Linked DNA regions of Homo sapiens: region 2 is linked to region 1. Evidence: promoter capture Hi-C in human tissues and cell types (Jung and others, 2019). All regions are on one chromosome and are shown on one strand. The core of a region is centred on a gene start or on the middle of the fragment in contact, and the rest is flanking DNA. Distances in the headings are between cores, read along the strand shown.

What was found. The method cuts DNA at HindIII sites, captures the fragments that hold promoters and counts their contacts. A contact is called where the count stands out against the background at its distance.
Region 2: a contact is called between a fragment that was not itself captured here and the fragment with the promoter of PLCE1 in region 1, in 1 of the 25 tissues and cell types used here (H1 embryonic stem cells).

The regions. Positions count from the first base shown.
Region 1 is chr10:93,992,428-93,997,939 of GRCh38, reverse strand. It overlaps PLCE1 (phospholipase C epsilon 1), which reads right to left and starts at 4,009. Exons shown (of 33, transcript NM_016341.4): 1 at 3,682-4,009. LOC105378438 (a long non-coding RNA gene) reads right to left here. Exons shown (of 4, transcript XR_946215.2): 4 at 4,221-4,720. RefSeq lists a silencer at 3,906-4,195. The HindIII fragment of the contact is 15,571 bases long and covers 1,850-5,512 here.
Region 2 is chr10:94,137,988-94,143,518 of GRCh38, reverse strand. The region is part of intron 3 of PLCE1 (phospholipase C epsilon 1); the gene reads right to left. It also overlaps the pseudogene HDAC1P1. Among named protein-coding and RNA genes, the nearest start is that of PLCE1-AS2, 32 kb to the right of the region's middle. The HindIII fragment of the contact is 3,556 bases long and covers 285-3,840 here.

The sequences.
Region 1 (5,512 bases), core at 2,760-5,259:
TATGAATATGTAAGCCCCCACATGCCAAAGATTTCAACATGAGCCCAATGGTTTCACCAGTACCCACCTCTTTTCCTACCAGTTCTTACACAGTGAATGCTCAAAAACAAGTGTGGCTGACACAGGGTGGAAAGGGGCAAGCTAAACAATTGCTAAGCACGTCTATTACGGTGGTTGAACTATCCATGGCATTTCAAAACCTCAACTGCTAAACAATTTAGCCAGATCACTATCTGAAACTTTCTAATGAGCTGAGTTAAAGCTATTAGGTTTCACCTAACCAAAAAAAAAAAAAAAAAAAAAAAAAGGATGGTTATTTGTTTTGGGTCATGAGCCCAGAGGTTAATGTAGGATAGCACAGTGATCAAGAGAACAGACTCTGGAGACAGCCCACTTTGACTGGCTCCTGACACTGGCACTTCCTTGCTGTGACTTTATGCAAATCACTTGACCTTTCGTTGCTTCAGTTTTCCCATCTTCAAAATGGGCATAATCATGGAAGTCCACACTCCCTAATCCAAATTCTGAGCAGCCAGCCAACTGTGATTCAGAAGCTTTATGGATTTTGTAATGGTAAAAATGCATATGCCATATCTTACATAACACTTTCAATGGTATCTGCAGCAAATAAAATATGCCCATAATTTCTGAAGTAAAAATATATGTGTAGTTCTCACCAAGTGAGAAAAATAAAGACTGTCATAACCTCACGTCACTTCAGACCAAGTTTTGTAGCCAAATTTATGAAAATCACAGTTTTTAGAGCTTTTTTGATTTTGGAAATACAGCTAAAGGATAAGATCTCTCACATTGACTGAGTAATATATAAAAATTAAATGCGTTAATTGATAAAAGTTCTTGGAGTGGTGCCTGGCATGTAGTAAGCACCATAGTGTTACCAACAACAACTTCTATTATTTTCATGTAAAATTTGGAAACTTTAAAGTTATGACTAAATTTCATTTGGAAACCAGTACACTTTGGAGATTAATAGGAATTACCCCTTTGAAACAATCCTCTAGGGAAGGATTTTCTGAGATGATGAAAATGTTCTATATCTGCACTGTCCAATACAGTAGCCACTAGCTGCATGTAGCTATCAAGCACTTGAAATATGGGTGGTTAATTTCATTTAACTAATTTCAATTCAAATGTAAATAGCCATATGTGGCTAGTGACTACCATGTTGGACAATGTAGCCTCCGAGGGCTTGGTTCCCAATCTGGCCCACGAAAATCTATTTAAGCCATAACACAGATGAATTATAGCCTCGGTAAAAACCCTGCATTCTGCATCCAGGGAGCAGAGAGGAACACATGATGCTAGAGAGAGTTCTGCCCTTCTTTGTAGGCCACATGGTTGGCCTATAACAAAATGCATCTTTGATATCGTCTTCCTCTCTTTCTCCATTCCCTACTCCTCCATCTCCAACTCTCCTCTTTGGGCCTTACATAACTAAATCACATGCTTCCCTAAAACCCTATCAGAACCTTCCACCCCTCTTCCAGAAGCACCATGTTTCCTAATCACCTGTCTTCCCTCGCCTCAACCAAACCCCTACTTGCTCAATGCCACAGATCTCAACTGAACGTTGGGAGGAAAGCAACTTCAGCAAACAAATTCACACTCTTAGCTGCTTCTACTGTTTTTGGCTTTTCCTCTGCTTCTCCTTCTGAACCCAGAAGCTCTGTTTTATTGTTCTTCCACCGCAGAAGTAGTTCCGGCAGAGAGAGAAGGCATTAAGACTAAAGCAACTGTCCTATATAGGCGCCTGTCAGCCAGGTGTGTGGAACACACACGCGCGCGCACACACACACACACACACGTGCAGCAAGCCTCACTCTGTGCAAATCCCTCCTCTTGCCCAGGCATGGGAAACGTCCCCTGCTGTCTACTTTAGAAAACTCTTCCACCATGCACAGTATTTTTTCAATCTTCTTTTATTCATTTAGAAAGTTACAGGTAACAAATTGCACATCAAACAGTTTTTTTAAAGTATACAACAAAAGCCCAGAGAAGAATGTGACTAAGAATGGTTGTAAATAGAAAAACAAAACCAACCGCCTTCATTGGAATCTAGCTTCTAACCCACTGGAGTATGGAATTTTTAATGACAGGTCAAACTTGGACCACATCCCAGGAGTTTATGTTACTAAGAGGACTGGAAGAATGTCCCTCCAGTTCAATCTGGCTTCTTACCTGGTAAGACATGGCTCCTGGGTATAAAGGGAATTTCCCCCATGGGGCTGTAAATAAAGGATAGTGTTAATGGTAAACATTATACATTCCTCTAGCTCCTTTCAATTATATTATCTCCTTCTCCAAAGTAGATATTTATGTTGTAAAACCAAAGTCTTAAGATTTAATACTGGCCCACAATTATCTCTAGAGTCTTCTAGGTGCAAGCATTTTGCCATGAAAGCCACAGCAAATGCCTTCAGTAGGGAAAATGAGACATCTACATAAATAACTCCCAGAAGGTAGAGAGCAGAAAGGGCCCTGGAGAAAAAATGCTGCAGAAATCAGAGCAGGGGGAGGTTGGCTGTTTCAGGAAAAGCCTCACACCACCAGCAAAACACAGTTTGAAGGATGGTTAGACTTTAGAGTGGTGGATGTGGGGGAAGATGTGCCATCAGATGGTCTAGATGACAACACCATCAGACATTCTTCAGAAAAGTATTTATGAAGACATCGATGCATACAATAACCTAGAGATAGTCCACCTCTCTCCTCAATGACAACTGGGCACCTGTACAAGCACCTATGGGGTCACCTGCTTCCACCTCCCAAGTCAGGCTCTCAAAAATTCTCCCTAGTGGGGTCAAGCATTCTTGGCCTCAGTAGTGCCCATTCTGTGGCAGCGGCCCTGCCCTACCTCTACGGGGGGTATAAGAAACATGAAAACATACCAATCCTGCAGAGATCTAAAAGACCTACGGGCAAATTTTGCATAATGCAACTGAAATTATGACCTTCGTGCAAATAAAACTTTTCGAAGACGTGAATCCTACTTAACAGGTATTCAGGGAACTCACTATTTAAAATGACACTGATTAATCACTAAATGAGTCTTACACTGAATAATTGGTTAAGTCGGCTGAACTCAGTGTCTGATGGCTTAAATACAGAGCGAGGGGCGAAAGCTTCCACAAATTTACGCTGTGCACCTAACATTCGCCACGACAGAAGACTTCTTGCTCTAGTGTATTTATTACTGTAGCATTAAAGGACTTGAAGGCAAAGCTAGCTATTCTAGTTATCAGTTAGAGCGGGACCTGGTCCAATATTGTATTTTCTAGGACTTGATGTACACAAATCTCTCCAGGAACAATCTCTTGAGCACTTTCCTTGAAATACCGCTGCTAAGTACCGCCACAAAAAGAGCTTACGTTTTTCTTTGCACTGGCCACCTCCACACCGTATTCACAACACGAAGGGGCGACCTGAGGCAGGCGTCTGGAGTGAAGGCACTGGCAGGGTGTCCTTTAGCCCCTGCGAGGGCGGCCTGCATGCCCTGGAGGACCGCCCGCCTCGGGTCCCCCGGGAGCGCGAGGACACTTTTCCGCCAGGTACGCGGAGTCGGGCTGCTCCCTTAGGCGGGTCGACTGCCTTGGGAGAGAACCAGCCCATCCTTCCCTTTCTCCAGTCCTCAGGAACCGAGCTACAGAGTCGCTTCCTCACCTCTTGGCTCCTGGCGAGTCTCGCCGGCGTCCCCAAGCGCAGCGTCCCTCTGGGACCAGCCGTCCGCGCGCCTGTCGCTAGCGGCGTCGGGTGTCCCCGCTACTGTGTGTCAGCTGCAGAGCCGATGCCCAGGAACGCGCAGGAGCCAGGCAAGTGCCCGAGAGGCAGAGCCCGGGAGGCAGAGCCCGGGAGGTAGAGCCCGGGCGCGCCGCCGCTGCCCCTCCCGCCGCGCGAGCCCGCCGCCCGCCGCGTTGCCCACGTTGCCCAGCGTTACCGTGTGGACCCGCGCCGTTCACAGTCCGCTCCCGCCGAGATGTGCGCGCTGCCCGGACAGCGGCGGCTGCGCGGGCGGCAGCGGGGCCCCCGCCCTGGGCCGGGCTTTCCCAGAACTCGCCCGCCCCGGGTGAGAGGCCGCTAGCGCCACCGCGGGCGGCCGGGCGGGGGAGCGGCCTGTGCCGGGCCCGCCCCCGGCTCCTGCCGCGCGGGGAAGGCGGGCGCGGAGCGAGGACCCGGCCGCCTCCCCCGGAGCTGGCTGCTGGCGGCGCGACCCCTTCCCAGACCCCTGGCCCTGACCCCTAGGAGCCATCCTTTCTGGCGGGAGCCAGAGAGAGCGCTCCTGGGGCGCCCGGCTCCGGGAAGGGCGGGAACTCTGCACACCTCAGGCGGCGGGAATTTACTCTCACACTACCCCAGGGAACCACCCCTGGTTGACAGATATGGAAACTGAGGTTCACGGCAGATAAAGGACACGATCAAGGTCTCTGTAGTAGATGGCAGCACCAAGTCTCGAATCTGTTCTGTCACTCGTTCATTTAATACATATTCATTGAGCCCCATCAATGTGCCCAGCGTTGTGCCAGGCTCCGGAAATACTCCTTTTGCTGGTAATGGTGGCCATCCAGGACTGCGGACTCCAAATCCAGTACTCTTTCATTGCTCAAGCAAACCTGAAGATCTTCACAACTAGAAACTACAGGCTTTGCACAGAACTTCCTTAGCCGCTGGAGCGGCTTTTATGAGTCTTAGGAGAGCCAAGGACCTGGAAAAAAAAATCAAATCATCATCCTCCTCCCTTTCGCCTAAACCTGTGCCTCCTCCCTCTACCTGTTCTAATGGAAGACCGTTCCCTAGGCCTGACCTCTTCTCCTACATCCGATCAGGACCCATTCCTGTGGCCCATATCGCCTCCCACTGTCCTCTCCCTTGGACCAAATCAATCCTTCAAACCACCGCTGTATTATTCTTCCTTTTTTACAACTTTAATCTATGCAGAAAACTTCACTGGCTCCCTATTGCCCTCCAAACTAACTCTCCATGGCTGTGTAACCCAGCATGCCCTGGCTAATAAGGATCACCCAACAGAATGTCTCTCCCACTCTAGCTCTGTACCTGAACTTAAGCTGAGCCTTCTACCTGGAGCATCTCCTCCCACACACTTTCCTCCTGCTCATGTTTGACCCTTTCTTTCGGGTCCCTCTTAAAAGTGATCTCTCCTTCTTGGAGGCTCCAGAACACAGGAGAGGTTGGAGCAAGAAAGCACAGGAGGCCCAAAGAATCCTGCTGTTAAGAAAAATCTGCCAGTCTGGTCCTTAAACTGTCTTGCTGTTTTCTCACCACTAGGACTTTAATGAAAACTAACATGATTGCCTCCCTGGAGAGCTGATTTCAGAAAGGTCTCTGCAGAGGGCTCTAAAGAAATTCTTTGTTCCTTAAGATCTTGGCATTTTAGCACTAGGACAGTGAGAAGTGGTAATTTACTCAATCCCTGAGGCTATGTTATCCTGAACAAGTAAATAAAGGGCTGAGGAAAGAGGTAGCATCACTGACAATA
Region 2 (5,531 bases), core at 813-3,312, 150 kb before region 1:
TATTATGTTCTATAAATGTTCCCAAGAGCAAGAATTTTCATAGCTCATTAAAATGAGGCTTACTCTTTAAAAACAATAAACAATTTAGAAACACTCAAAAGTAGAAGTGTCATGTATTGAAAAAAATCCTTTAATTTTATTGTAATGAGTAAGTCATCTTCATTAAAATATACAAATTTTAACTGGAACACTAAATTTTGTCCCAGTCATAGATTTTTAGACAAGGCTCCCAATACCAGGAGTAAATGCTTAGCATCTTTCTACTCTGGAGGGAATAAAATAGAGATGATATCAGCAGAGAATTAAGTAAAAACAACAGAAGTTTCATAATATGGGTCAGGGCTTGTTTTCCCTGGTTAAATACCTGTTTAGATTTCTTCAGGTACTTAAATGGTTGTAGAAACCTCAGATGTCAATGAAGATGGTATAGGGACTTCCCTCTGGGGCCCTATATCCTGTGCTTATTTCAATTATAACATTTATACTATCTTAAAATTTGCACGTTTATTTGTCCATTTCCTCCATTTGTGGGTAAATCCCTCGAAAGTAAAGACTGTATTTTGTTTGCTGTTATATCCTTGGCACATAGTAGATGTTCAACAAATATTGGTCAAATGATTGAATTAATCAGTGGCCTAATGCATGGGAACTAAGGAAAATCTCGCTAAAGGAGTTACACAGGTGTGGCCTCCAGCCACTAGATACCTCCCCTTAGGTGTCCCAGGAGTTGCTAGTGCTCTAGGCCCACAGCTAGGGAAACCTGGAGGGTACTTGTCTTTTCTTGTACATCTACAACTGAGCTAACAGCAGAGTCTTTGAATTAAGAACAGTGGAATGCTGGCATTTCAAGATGGTGGTGGCAATCCTCATTACTACCATCATCATCACCATCATCAGCCCCAGCATGACCATCATCATCATAAGATTGGTTGAACATACATTAGGTACCAGATACTATGCCAAGCTGTTTTTATTTTTAATTTTTAAAGTTTTTGTAGAGAGAGAGTCTCGCTCCATCACCTAGGCGGACAGAGTGCAGTGGCAGGATCATAGCGCACTGCAGCTTCAAATTCCTGGGCTACAGTGATTCTACAGCCTCAGCCTTCTGAATAGGTGGGACCACAGGCACACACCACCACATCTGGCTGGCTTTTTTTTTTTTTTTTTTGAGACAGCATCACGCCATGTTGCCTACACTCGTCTTGAACTCCTGGCCTAACGTGATCTTCTTGGCTTTGCCTCCCAGAGTACAGAGATTACAGGCATGAGCCACCTGGCCTAAGTTCTTTATATACATTGTCACACTTATTCCTCAAAACAACTCTCCGAAGTTGTTGCTTTTATTCCCATTTTGTAGATGCAGAAACTAAAGCCTAGAGGTACAATCACCTGAATAGGATGACCCAATGTTGAAGTCAAGGCTCAAATCCAAAACACAATGAGGCTCACATTTAAAGGCCTTTCTTGGAGGTAACCACTTCTGCAGAGTCTGCAGCTATTCTCTGGCATTTTTAAGAACTATTGTTTTACTTAAATATTCAGTAAGTTTTGGAGGGAAGTTTTGGAATCTAATGGTTGTTTTTTTGGATGCAGTGTTTCAAATAACTATTTTGCAAATAAATTTCTGCAATATGGTCCATTCTGAGTCTCTGTAATTAGGACTTGACATTTTTATAACCAGCTCAGATATGTAAACCCAAAGTGTCTGTCTGGTGTTGCTATCCTCACCAGTCATCTTTCTGACTGCATTGATTAGGATTTAACCAACTTTCAATTACCCGATCTTCCTTCTTTCCTTCCCCTCCCTCCCTCCCTTCCTTCTCTCCCTCCCTTCCTTCTTTCTTTCCTCCCTCCCTCCCTTTCTTCTTTCCTTCCTTCTTTCTTTCCTCCTTCTGCCTTCCTTTCTCCTTCCCTTTGCCTTCCCTTAGCCTTCCCTTCACCTTCCCTTAGCCTTCCCTTCACCTTCCCTTAGCCTTCCCTTCACCTTCCCTTAGCCTTCCCTTCACCTTCCCTTCGCCTTCCCTTCACCTTCCCTTCTCCTTCTCCTCCCTCTCCCTCTCCCTCTCTCTCTTTTTGGTGTCAAAACTTTATGGAGAATTAGGCCATAATTTGTTCCTTTCATAAGCTAGTTTCTTGGAGCAAAATTAGGGCACATAAGAGAATTAAATGGAATCAGTCTCCCAGCTCAAAATGGGTGTATTCACACCTAGGAATGGAGTGCTATGTTCAGGTCACACCTGGTGACGGAGTCACATTCCTTGGTCACAACTGGTATGGAGTCATATTCTTAGGTTACACCCAGGTGTAGTGTCACACTCCTGGATGATACTTGACCACCTGTGGTCCTAAAACAGGTTTTTGTCCTGTGCCTACCAAGCTTCCTGGCCCTATGACCTACTCATACCACCTTTAATGTAGCAGCCTAGCACTTTATGAATTCTCTTTAGGTGGTAAGGGCTCCTTCAGTAGACCTGAAACCTAATATTACATTTTCTCTGGAATGAGAAATATTATCTTACAAGTTGAAGACTTCCAGATGTGATCTTCTCCATTCTTAGGTGCCATAGCACTAGGCCACAGTGGGCAGCTAATGAATACTTTTTAGTTGATTAACTGGTAGAGAAACACACCCAATATTACATTAAAGCATACTTTTAAATACCAAGAAAATAATTTCAAGGTCACAATACTAACAAGTCAGGATATTTCTTTAAATAAACAAATCTTGGAATTAGAGCTATGCACATGCCTTCCTTGCCTAGTAGGCATGTAAAGGGTAATCGTTTTGATTTTGAGGAAGTCAACTAAGCCAGCCTTTACAAACTAAAGTATTTACGAGTTATAATCATGTAGTTCAAATGTGTATGTGTATTCCTACTATAACTTCTTGTTTTTTATTCAAAGCTATTAACTTTAGAGAAAGATACAAATAGAATATACAAGCTTATTGTAGTGAAAGAAAATAAGTTGAAAACTTGATGGGAGTCTCACTGTGTTGCCCAGGAGGGAGTACAGTGGTGTGTTCTCGGCTCACTGCAACCTCCTCCTCCTGGGTTCAAGCAGTTCTCATGCCTCAGCCTCCTAAGTAGCTGGGACTGCAGGTGTATGCCACCACGCCTGGTTAACTTTTTTTTTTTTTTTGTATTTTCAGTAGTAACAGGTTTCATCATGTTAGCCAGGCTGGTCTCAAACTTCTGACCTCAAGTGATGTGCTCGCCTCGACCTCTCAAAGTGCTGGTAGACTTTTCTATCTGAAATAAAATATTCCCTCTTTTCAAACAAAAATATTGTATCTGTAAGGTATTTTTGTTTTCATATCAATATTCTATTTATAGCTGACATGTGATAAATAACTTTAATATAGCTAAATATAGTCTACAGACACACATACCACACACTCAGACTGGTTAAAAATGAACAGTTTAGTTTTTTTTTCTAATACATAATGTATTATTATTTTTAAAAATAGAAATGTACCATTTTATTACAAAGTCTCACAAAAAGAAAATAGTATCCAAAAAAGGAAACTAGACTACCAATCTGCACCTGCAGAATTGGAGGAACACAGAGGGCAGGCAGTGTGAGCTTCCTGGCTTACTTGAGGACAATGGGGAGGTATGAGAACAGAACCAATCTAAAACATCTAATATTACCTTAGGAACCTGGAAAGAACAGAGGATCCTTGGAGATCCAGCCACCCCTTCTAGAATGCTAATAAGGACACCTTTCCAAAACTACTATATGGCTACCTACAAGTATCCCTCCCACCCAGCCCTGGCTCCCTTTATGGTTCAAAGTTAAGAACTGGGGAGGAAAGGGGGGCAAGGCAGCTCCTGGAAGAGCTCACCCAGCACAGCTGCCCTGGACTCAGGACCCTGGTTTCTGTCTTTCACTCTAGTCCCCAAGATATTTATGTTTAGTAAATAAAAATTTACTAATAGTCTAGAGAAATAGAAAATATAAAATCTAAGTTGTTAGGGGACCCAGCAAGAAGCCAGAGCTGGAAAGGCCTGCTCAGCCAACTTGACCTCCTTCTGGACCCCTTTGGCCTCTGGCTTCTCCTTGGTCTTCTCTGCTGTGACTTCTTCTCTTCTGGGTCTTTCTCTCTTTCATCCTGTTTAGACCCACTTGGCTTTTTTGAAGTTGGAAGAATTCTTGCAGCCACCCTTTCCCTCTTCATCAGAGTCGGAGAATTCATCCTCACAGGCAATTTGTTGTTTATTTTTTTGTTTTTTGAGATGGAGTCTCGCTCTGTCACCCAGGCTGGAGTGCAGTGGCCCAATCTCAGCTCACTGCAATCTCTGCCTCCTGGGTTCAAGTGATTCTCCTGCCTCAGCCTCCTGAGTAGCTGGGATTACAGGCACGTGCCACTATGCCCAGCTAACTTTTGTTATTTTTAGTAGAGATGTGGTTTCACCATGTTGGCCAGGTTGGCCTCGAACTCCTGACCTCAGGTGATCCACCTGCCTTGGCCTCCCAAAGTGCTGGGATTACATGCATGAGCCACGATGCCCGGCCTCACAGGCAGTTTGTTTGTCAGAGGAACAGATGGAGATGCACTTGTCAGGGTCTTCGTCCTTGTTGTCACTCTCCTCTAGGTTACATCCTCAGCAAGAGCCCACATTTGGGCCCTAGGTGTGTGGGGCAGCATTCTCAGGTTCCCAGACAGTTGCTGTTTGATCTTTTCCAGGCATCATTAGTGATCTGGTTAGTTATATTGGAAAGACTGATATGAAGCTTGAAATCTGGTCCAAAGTATTTGAAGTAGTCATTATATGGGAGCTCATTATGGATCTCTGTGTCCAGGGCCACAGCTGTTTCCTATGTCCAGCAGCAGGTGACATTGCGAATGATGTAACACCTCCTCCTAGCATCAGCATCAGCAAGATGAAGCTCATAACAAATTCCACACACTTGACATGCCCTTTGATGTTCAGATTGAAGCAACCTAACTGATCCCCAGATGGAGTCTGAGTCACACTGTATGACCACAGCACTAGGCTGGAACATCTCCATTACTACGGACATATCTGGCTTGAAAATGGCCTCACAGGATTCATTATCAATCCCATCTCAGAGTGGGTGGTTAATAGCATAATACTTGCCTTTTCCAGCCCCAATATCCCATAGGTCCCCAGTTCCTGGGAAGTACTCTCCTCATTTATGAAAGGACACAGTCATGACCCAGTCTGTGGCATAGAAGGCCTCTTCCATGCCATCACCGTGGCATGGAAGGTCAATACGCACAATATGCACTGTGGAATATCAAGGTCAATATGCAGCACCCCCTGGTGATTCTCTAGCAGGTCCAGGAGGGCCAAGACTGTATCATTGACTTAGCAGAAGCCAGATGCCTCAGACTTCTTTGCATGGTGCAGTCTGGTTCATGGTGATGTCTGTCTGCCACTCATTAAGTTTCACAGAACTTGCCACAGAGCCGCCCACAGACAACTGACGAAACTCAAAGAGGCCATGAAATACTGGACAGTCCTCACCAATGTTGAATCTCTGTGCCTGCTGGCTGTACTCAG